Linked DNA regions of Homo sapiens: all the other regions are linked to region 1. The links are contacts of gene promoters, found by promoter capture Hi-C in blood cells and fetal thymus (Javierre and others, 2016). All regions are on one chromosome and are shown on one strand. Each heading gives the region's core, a stretch centred on a gene start or on the middle of the fragment in contact. The rest is flanking DNA. Distances are from core to core; before and after follow the strand shown.

What was found. The method cuts DNA at HindIII sites, captures the fragments that hold promoters and counts their contacts. A CHiCAGO score of 5 or more calls a contact.
Region 2: a fragment that was not itself captured here is called in contact with the fragment with the promoter of LDAH in region 1 in 1 of 17 cell types (total CD8 T cells); the score reaches 6.4 in total CD8 T cells.
Region 3: a fragment that was not itself captured here is called in contact with the fragment with the promoter of LDAH in region 1 in 3 of 17 cell types (total B cells, naive B cells and total CD8 T cells); the score reaches 6.1 in total B cells.

The regions. Positions count from the first base shown.
Region 1 is chr2:20,821,394-20,824,843 of GRCh38, reverse strand. LDAH (lipid droplet associated hydrolase) reads left to right here and starts at 1,743. Exons shown (of 7, transcript NM_021925.4): 1 at 1,743-1,807. RefSeq lists enhancers at 1,560-1,949, 2,170-2,239, 2,042-2,867. The HindIII fragment of the contact is 14,255 bases long and covers 1-3,450 here.
Region 2 is chr2:19,894,579-19,898,028 of GRCh38, reverse strand. It overlaps TTC32 (tetratricopeptide repeat domain 32), which reads left to right. Exons shown (of 3, transcript NM_001008237.3): 2 at 1-160; 3 at 903-1,398. The coding sequence ends at 1,042. Among named protein-coding and RNA genes, the nearest start is that of TTC32, 5.7 kb to the left of the region's middle. The HindIII fragment of the contact is 1,832 bases long and covers 835-2,666 here.
Region 3 is chr2:19,912,211-19,915,660 of GRCh38, reverse strand. It overlaps WDR35 (WD repeat domain 35), which reads left to right. Exons shown (of 27, transcript NM_020779.4): 26 at 1,384-1,624; 27 at 1,953-3,450. The coding sequence ends at 2,103. Among named protein-coding and RNA genes, the nearest start is that of TTC32, 12 kb to the right of the region's middle. The HindIII fragment of the contact is 181 bases long and covers 1,491-1,671 here.

The DNA.
Region 1 (3,450 bases), core at 494-2,993:
TATATAACCTCCATATATTGATTTATGACTTTGCCTATAACCTCTGACACCCCTGCATTTAAAAACCCTTACCTATAAACAATTAGGGAGTTCAAGACTTAAGCACTAACTGACCAGTTCTCCTTGCTTGGGACCCTACAATAAATGCCTCACTTTCTTTCACTATAATCCTGATGTCAGTGTTTGGTCTTGCTGCACAGGCAATTGGACTCCAGTTTGGTTTGATAACAGCTCTTGAGAGATTGGAAAAGAGAGAGTCCCTGAGAGAGTGGGTTGTTTTCCACCTCCTGTTTGGTCTGTTTTCACATGTATCAGCTTCCCCTTTGACCTTCTACCATGTTGTGACACTGCACAAAAAACTCTAACCAGAACTGAGCAGATGCTCACACTATGCCCCTTGAGCTTTCCAATGTGCAGAACCATGAGCTAAGTAAACCTCTTTTTTAAATCCAAGCATACTTTGAAGATATTGGGGGTTCAGTTCCATACTACCACAATAAAGCAAACATCACAATAAGGCAGTTCACAGAATTTTTTTGGTTTCCCAGTGCATATAAAATTTATATTTACACTGTACTGTAGATTATTGTGTACAACAGTATTATGTCTAAAAAAAGTACATACTAAGAAAAGAAAAATAGCCCAGAGCTGTCTGAGCTATGTGAGGTATGCAAAATTTATTAGACCCGGACAGAAGTGAATACTGGCTTCCGCCACGCCTTCCCATGCCTTAGGGCAATTGTTAAAGGCATTTTGTTCTTTATTAGCTGCCTCACCCATTATCTTTATGTTCCTGGAATTTGTGATACAAGGAAGAAAGCATAGCCAGTCAATAGCTTAAGTTTTTTAAATATAAATTCTTGGTAAACAAGTTAAGCTCTGCCTCCTCTCCTTTCCTTAAAAACCGGCTCACGCCTGTAATCCCAGCACTTTGGGAGGCCGAGGCGGGTGGATCATGAGGTCAGGAGATCGAGACCATCCTGGCTAACAAGGTGAAACCCCGTCTCTACTAAAAATACAAAAAATTAGCCGGGCGCGGTGGCGGGCGCCTGTAGTCCCAGCTACTCGGGAGGCTGAGGCAGGAGAATGGCGTGAACCCGGGAAGCGGAGCTTTCAGTGAGCCGAGATTGCGCCACTGCGGTCCGCAGTCCGGCCTGGGCGACAGAGCAAGACTCCGTCTCAAAAAAAAAAAAAAAAAAAAAAAAAAACCTACTCCGACTGCTGCTAATTGGAGTGTATATTCAAGGCAACTTGAATCTAAGCTCCTGAGTGGCCATTCTCAAGCACTGAGCCCAAATAAACTCTATACTTAATATTATTCTCTGAATTTTCTTAAAGTTGGCAACACCTTAATTAAAAAAATACTTTATTGATCATGCTTATGAACATGATCAAATGAGAATCAACTTTCCTGTGTATGTGGGGAAGATATGCAACTAGTAACGCAGAAAGAGGGAAATGGGAAGAGGGAGAAAAGAGGGGCAGACATGGAACAAATGAGAGAGAAGGAAAGGGAAGCCAGAAGCCAGAAGCACATCAAGGATGACAGAAAATAAAAGGCGGATAAAATTCAAATGAAAAAGAAAGGAAAACCCCGACACCCTCCAAGAGGTCTCTCTGATCTGGACCACCGGCTCCAAGCCAGTAAGAAATCTCCCAGCCAGCTGTGCGCCGCGCGCCAGGCTGACATCGGCTTCCCGGATCAGCTCCGGCGCGGTACTGTGACGTCACCTGAGGGGGGCACTTCCGGTCTCGTGCCGCCTTCCCAGGACCCTCAGGGAGAGCGGGCAGCCTTCCAGGTGGACAGGTGAGGTACAGCTTGCCGAGCTCAGGGTGACTGCCCAAAGGAAGGACGGGTGGGCAGGCACGCGGGATCTGGCGCCCCTTCTTCTCTATGGTTCCTCGCAGAGCCCCTGTTGCCCTGGGCCAGATGGCCCGTAGCAGCAAAAATAATACTGTTCCGACAGCTCGCGAGTTCGGAGCCACTTGGCCTGGGAGTCCCTTGAGTTGCAGGCCGGGCAGTCGCTCACCCGAGCGCGGTAATGCAGCATTTGAACCCCTAAGTGTAGCCCACCTGTAGGGAGTCTTATGGTGCCCCCGCGGAGGAGTAGAGGCCAAAAAGTTGGGCAGCTGGCCGGGAAGAACTCGCTAGGAGGGGTCAAACTCTGGGCCGGGAGTGTTCTTTGCCCCCGGCGTTTAGTGCTCACGCCGCCTTTTATTCACGCTGAAGACCTTAACCGTAAACCCTCATCCTTGGGTCTTAGTTTGGTTTTGTTCCCCACGCAAGACAGAATGCAGATTGGAACACTTTATTCCTTGGTTAATTCGTATCTTCCCTCGCAAGTAGTTACCGGACACCTGCTTTGTGTCCTGTGTACCAAACACAAGAGTTGATAGTCCTGGCCGGGCGCCGTGGCTCACGCCTGTAATCCCAGCACTTTGGGACCCCGAGGCGGGCGGATCAGGAGGTCAGGAGATCGAGACCATCCTGGCTAACACGGTGAAACCCCATCTTTACTAAAAATACAAAAATAAATACATAAATAAATAAATTAGCCGGGCGTGGTGGCGGGCGCCTGTAGTCCCAGCTACTCGGGAGACTGAAGCAGGAGAATGGCGTGAACCCGGGAGGTGGAGCTTGCAGTGAGCCGAGATGGCGCCACTGCACTCTAGCCTGGGCGACAAAGTGAGACTCAGTCTCAAAAAAAAAAAAAGAGTTGATAGTCCTTGAGTTGAAAGAACAAATCTGTATGGAGAAAGAGATACAACCAAAAGAAACCCAGAAGATTTAGAAGCATCTCCAGAATGTTTATTCTCAAAAGCTGTTTTTTAATTAAACTTCTTTCTGAAACTATACGTAGGAGTGTCTCTTGTGTGTTTCCCCATTTTTCCACCTGAAGGTTAAAGACTTAGAAACCTGCTAAGGCCCCTCTTTCCAGCATGTAGCATTCTAGGGGGATAATCAGGGCAACACAGTGGGTGCCCATCTAAAATTTTATATTTTAATATTTTGCTTTTTGATAACTTAATGCCTTCAGACTGGAGGATTTTTTCTTTCTTTTTTTTAATTTTTTTAAAATTATACTTTAAGTTCTAGGGTACATATGCACAACGTGCAGGTTTGTTACATATGTATACATGTGCCATGTTGGTGTGCTGCACCCATTAACTTGTCATTTACATTAGGTATATCTCCTAATGCTATCCCTCCCCACTCACCCCACCCCACAACAGGCCCCGGTGTGTGATCTCCCCCTTCCTGTGTCCAAGTGTTCTCATTGTTCAATTCCCACCTATGAGTGAGAACATGTGGTGTTTGGTTTTTTGTCCTTGCGATAGTTTGCTGAGAATGATGGTTTCCAGCTTCATCCATGTCCCTACAAAGGACATGAACTCATTCTTTTTTATGGCTGCATAGTATCCCATGGTGTATATGTGCCACATTTTCTT
Region 2 (3,450 bases), core at 501-3,000, 930 kb after region 1:
AGCCCTGAGGATTTGGCTACTGCATATAACAACAGGGGGCAAATCAAGTACTTCAGGGTTGATTTTTATGAAGCCATGGATGACTACACATCTGCCATAGAAGTCCAACCCAATTTTGAAGTTCCATATTACAACAGAGGGTTGATACTGTATAGGCTGGGTAAGAATTTTTTTTCTTTTTGAGTTTTGTCATTGACTGTATTCTGTTATTTCAGAGCTTTCAAATGTTGTAAAACTAACGTGGTAATCAAATTTTAAAGTTCTGTGAAATTTAGGTTTAGAGCTTGGAACAAAGGAAGTGTCCCTGAGTTTATTTTAGGCTTTTGATAGGCGTTATAGATCACAGCAGAGCACTGGGGTGGGAATTGGACCTGGGCGCAGGAGCAGGGGTGACCCCATTACTTTGTGCTTGTGCATTCCCAGCTGTGAAATGAGGGCAATTCAGATGTTCACCTGTGAAACTTTTCTGAGTTAAAATCTTTGAAGACACACAAGACAATAGAAAGTGAAGTTTAGATTCTTGGATTAAAGGGACCATAGGTAGTGTTTCTTCATTTAAAGTGTCAAAAAGAAAATTAGTTCCCGTTTCTTAATTTTACTGCAATTATGTAAAACAGGTGATACAGTTTTATTAAAATTTTAAGATGATTGATAATATTTACCTGTTAAATCTCAATAAATAAACCCATAGCTAATTTTAGGTGTATTATTCCCTAAGGGCACACAAAATTACTTTGATATACACATCTCTATATTATTAAGATAAAAAGATTCCTTTACTAGAAGTGACTGAAAGCTCATAAATATAAAAGCAAAAGTACATGTATCAAAGCTTTTCCATGAATAATATATAGAAATACTCGGTTTCTTTTCTCTTTTCCATTTTTTGGGTTCTGGTACAGGATATTTTGATGATGCTTTGGAAGATTTCAAGAAGGTCTTAGACTTAAATCCTGGATTTCAAGATGCTACTTTGAGCTTAAAACAGACTATTCTAGACAAAGAAGAAAAACAAAGAAGAAATGTTGCAAAAAATTATTGATATTTTTAACTTAATGGAAGTATTGATTCATGATCCTTACATCTGCATCTAGTTATCAGTAATTTAGATATTGAGCTATTTTGATTTATATTTAAGAAATTAATACATTAGCACTGAAAGTTAAATAGTGTGTTTAAGGTAGTTAATTTCAGGTTGAATGGGTTTTTTTTAATGAAGTGTAAATAATACCAATGTATAAGTGTATATTATTATATTAAATATTATAGTAAAAAGGAATGTGTGGTATTTTCTTCAGCAAAACTATTTTTGTGATTTTTTTATTCTCAACTTTTTATTTAAAAAATGTTACATCTGCAGAAAAGTTGAAAGTATAATAAACTCTTCAGTTAAATTCATGAGTTGTTAATATTGTGCCACATTTGCTTTTTCTATTTAAATATATAACTTTTTGCTGAAACATTTGAAAATAAGGTGACGAGGTCACAGTACTTCGCCCCTAAATATTTCAGCCTACATTTTCTAAGATTGAGGACATCCTCCTTTATAACCACAATACCATTATAATACCTAATAAAATGAATAATTCTGTAATGTCAGCCATATCCAGCCCATATTCCAAAGTGTGTAGATTTTTATTTGGATCTAGAGCCAATCAGGTTTCAATTGCATTTTTTTTTTTTATGTTTCTCTCAGTTCTTTTAATCTAGTCCCCTGTCCATTTTCTTGCCCTAGCATTGGCTTTGAGAGAAAGGCTATTTTATATAGCTAGGCTAGAGAGACATAACATTTAGGCTTAAAAATAAACATGTCCTACAATTTGAAAGAGTTCAGCTTGAATTACACTTGATTTTCTCAAGTAATCATTGATAAAAATAGGTTAAGATTTAAATATTGAACATATTTTCTGTCTCTGGATAATGACAATTGTTATCAACATTTACTGAATACTATAAGCCAAGCACTGTTCAAATCTCCATAATAATTTGGTGATCAGGTAGGAATGTATAGAGAGGTGAGGAAATGACAAAAAGCACTTAGTAAGTATAAAGTTTAAAAATCTTTTATTTTGGTGCTGCCAACAATTAGGCCCTTATGAAGCTATCAAAAACCGGGAAGAACTTGAAGGGAAAACAGACTAACACCAGCCATATGCCATCTACATTTTTTGTATTTTATTGTTGTTTGGCTTCCAAAGATTCCCAAACTAGTTTATTACTGCTATGGAAAAGCTGTTCTGTGGTGGAAATTACCCGAATCAGGAGAAAGGAAAGTTTGCTTTGTGTCTTCAGAGGAAGGCGCAGGGTAACTTCTGTGGCCTCAGATGCAATCAGCAGCAGCAGCCTTAAAATGCTTTTTTTGTGTGTGTATGAGTAATCTCATGAAGCAGAAAAAGTAATTGCCCTGTTTGTAGCTCATAAGTAATATCTGGCAAAATACATGGAGAGTTTGGGCTGTAGGTAAGTGAATATTAAGAGGAAATTAAGTTTCATGGCCTAGAAACAAAGTCTCTGTTTCTGGAATTATTCATACTTTCCAAAACGGTTTATCTTATATTTGTTGGAAATCTAAAAAAATTTCTAAAATTGCATTAAAATGTAGAAAAATCCTTAGGAAAACTTTTTTTTTAAAAAAGCAAGTTTCCTAGACCTTGGGAGGGAAAGCTTTAAGCCATTCCACCCAGAGAAGCAAATGCTTAATGTTTAATTTTATTTTCTCTTGACTCATATTCTCTTTACTCTTGACTGGGATCAGATGGAATATGAAAAGGAAAAATTGTTTAACATTTTCATGTGGTTTGTTAGATTATATTCAAAATTTCTTCATCCTTTATCAGAAAAAAAAAAAAAAAAGTCACTTAAGTTCAGAATCAGCAGTTGCTGATTGTAGACCCAGGCACTCATTTTCTCTTGTCTTGTTACTGGAAATAAAGAATAATTCATTTACCTTGTTTAGCGTTGAAACTTTAGGCATTATTCAGATTCTAAGTTTCTGATTGACCAAATAATACCTTGGATATTTACCTTAAAATATATTCATTACCGTTCATATTTCCCACATTTCAGTATTCGTTATTTCCTTTTTCTACTAGAAAAGTAACTTATGTTTTCTAATTTTTTCCTTTGTAAAAACAAAAGAATTGTGGTTTGTTATAAGGTTTCTCTTTCACAAAGTGAGGTAAGATAGGATAAAATGGATTTAAGTTACTTTTGAGTTTAGAATATTACTCCTAACAGTAGTTGAAAAGTGTGGAGCTATTTGTTTTTTTCTGAAATTTGGAACTGAATAAAACCCTTTACTTTATGATAGCAAAGCAAATATCCAAGTTAGTCTTTAGTCATTATCTATTTGCTCTTTTGCTCTGTCATTTGCTCTTTTGCTCTGTCTTTTTTGGTTTTCTGTTTTTCACTGGCTTCTCTACCCTCTGAATCCTAAATGTAGCCTTGGCT
Region 3 (3,450 bases), core at 332-2,831, 910 kb after region 1:
AATTGGTTATTAGTTATATATAAAAATTATTTTTATGTTTATTTTATAACTGACCTTCATTTAGTTTTAACTAATATGTGACATAAATTATACACTGTTTAAAATAGCTGTATCATATTCAATTTATACACCATTTCTAGACTTAAAAGAACAATTAGATCTTTAACTTGAGATGCTTCACCTACTAGGTGAAGATCTCTATATGCCTCATTTTTTTTTTTTTTGTCAGTGGTAAGACGATCTGAAACAATGTATGACCTGTAAATTATTACCCTTGAACCTATCATGCTTTGGATATGAAATTAGAGGATATTGTTTATTGTAACTGAGTGATTACATTTTATATACATTTTTTCTACTACACTTTGTTGTAAATACTTGACCCCAGAACCAGTTTATAGGATTCTGATTGTAAAACACATGAATATATTGTTTAAACTGGTTTTATGAAGTTTTTGATATACTATAACAAAGTATTTTTAAGATTCCAAGGTCTAGAGAAGAAAAAGATACAAATTGGTTATAAATCTAATATTAAATCTTAATATTAAATCTAATATTAAGTCTGCTTTTTTTATTATACTTTAAGTTCTGGGGTACATGTACAGAACGTGCAGGCTTGTTACATAGGTATACATGTGCCATGGTGGTTTGCTGCACCCATCAACCGTCATCTACATTAGGTATTTCTCCTAATGCTATCCCTCCCCTAGCCCCCCACCCCCAACAGGCCCAAGAATACAGTGCATTTTAAAGAAAGATTTTTTCATCTCCAGTATAATTGCAAATAAGATGTTGTAACTTGAATTGTCTCAACTGACAACTTGGAGACTCATTTTCACTTTTTCACAAAATCCTATTGTTTCAGTGAGACAAATGACAAAAGCAGTAATACAAAAGCAATAATCTGTCCAAAGAAACACAGAGAAAAGAACATATTATTTTATACTGTTTTGCTTATATTGTTTTGCTTTTTTTTTAACAAAAGGAAACATGGTATTATCTTGCAGTTTATGACTAACATAGTATAATACTCATTTGCTTTTTATGAAGTGCCACAGAAATTTCTAACATAAATTGAAGAAAATGTGGATGTTTTGACACCAAAATTTTGTGTGTGTGTGTGTATTTCTGAGCTGGCACAGCCATGTGCAGCATTTGGTGGTGGTTCTTTTCATAGGATGAGCTGTTAGCCAGCTTCACAGAACCTTGGATATCATGTAGCCTAGTTCCTCCTCTTGGTGCTCCCATCTCTCAACACTGTTTGCTTTCAGTTCGTTCATGCAAGTTCAATGAAATCACCTTAACTTAGATTCTTCTTTTGCATGTTCATGATATCATAATAATTATTTTAAAAAACCCCAATTGCCCTGTTTTTCTTAGCTCTTCACCTGAAAGACTATGAAGACATCATCCCTCCTGTGGAGATCTACTCTCTGCTAGCACTCTGCGCATGCGCCAGCAGAGCCTTTGGGACTTGTTCAAAAGCTTTCATTAAACTTAAATCTTTAGAGACCCTCAGTTCAGAACAGAAACAGCAGTATGAAGACCTTGCTTTAGAAATCTTCACCAAACATACTTCAAAAGATAACAGAAAACCTGAATTGGACAGCCTTATGGAAGGGTAGGCTAATTTTAATTAGTGGATGCCATTCTATCTTATTAGAAGCTTGGATTTCTAGATGTACAATGTTTAATGTAGGAATTAAAGCACTGAATTTTGAAGCAATTCACATTAACATTATACCCTATTTTATTTATTTTTACAAGTGTATTCATGCTTTATTTTGTCATTGTAAGAAAGGTTTTTTCTTGAAATAACTTTTTTAAATGAAAGTATTTGATGTTCATCTCAGAAGTTTTATTCTTTAGGTTTTTTTTAAGTGTATTAAATAAAGTTAGACTAATGAGAAGTTTTAAAGTATAATGAATTGTTTCTCCCCGTTTTACAGTGGAGAAGGGAAACTGCCAACATGCGTTGCCACAGGAAGCCCAATCACTGAGTATCAATTCTGGATGTGCAGTGTATGCAAACACGGTGTCCTTGCTCAGGAAATAAGCCACTACAGCTTCTGCCCCTTATGCCATAGTCCAGTGGGATAAAGGAATGATAAACTGTATATAACTGTAAAATATATGTAGCATATATACATGGCTATATGCTGTATATGTAATAAGGTTTATTTCTGTGAGTTTTGTATGAAAATCAGCCTCATTATTTATAGTTGAATTTTTGCACAAAATATATGTTAATAAAATAATTTTTATGGCAATACAACTGTGAAATAATAAGGCCGATTTTCATATAAATGTATGAAAATCAACCATGTTTTCTCTCACCCTCTCTCTTTTGTTTATCTTGTTTTTGGTTACATGATACCATGGAAATATTCCAAATAAATTTTTTTCTCACAGTGTCAAGGTAACTGAATTCATTAAAAAATCTTGAAGGGAGTAGGGAGTGGGGGAAGCATGGGAGTGGGGCAAAGTTGAATTTAGAGAATTTTTATAACCCATGTTACAAGGAAGTTAAACAATTGTAATAATGAAATGAGCTTTCTCTATAGCCATATTTAATTAAATAAGTGTCGAATGTCTTCTTTATTGTATTTTCAGAAGTGAGGCGATGGCATTTTAAGACATTTTTTACAATCTGAATTGTTTCTAATAGCCCTATTCTTCTATTTTAAAACCTGTCCTTTTAGTCTCATTTAAGAGATGGCATTTGGAATTTACACTTTCATATGATTGTGCAGAAAACTTGCCTCTATTTATAATGAAGATAACTTAAACAGAAATATCCATTTTGTAGTTATAGCTTCTGTTGAAACATTGTCACTAAGTTGGACCGTTTATTTACACAAGTATTGTTGAGGGAGTGATTTTTTCTTGATATGCGTCTGTTTTCATTTATTATTAATTTGAAAGATAAACAGTTGTGATCCATAATGGATCATTTCTTATGTCTTTTACATAGCTAATAATGTTCTCTGTTTATTTCTCATGAATTCCCATTTTGTGGCTAAAGACCAGACCTTTGCACTATTTCATCAAGATTATTTTATTGAGGTTTGGCTTACATATAGTAGAGGCAATACATAGAGATACGCAACTTTGTTTTTGCAGCTACAATACACTTTCTCAATCTCATATGTTTTTGTCTTGTAGAGACAGAGACAAGTTCAGCATGTTGCAGATTGGGAATAGTGAGCTATGAGAAGAGATTTAGAGCCTAGATGAGCTTAGGATAGAGAGTGGGCTCATTGGCCTAAATAAAAAGAGAAGACCAGAAGTCTTTGAGGTCTCTGTCTCTATTCATGCGCCTCGTGGAAAATTACCTTGGTACAATGGTAGCCTCTAAATAGACTGCCTCGCAAGCTATTCCAGAGGTCATGGAACAGAAAGCCTTATAAACCAAATAAAAATTCTCAAAATACATTGGTTTATTGA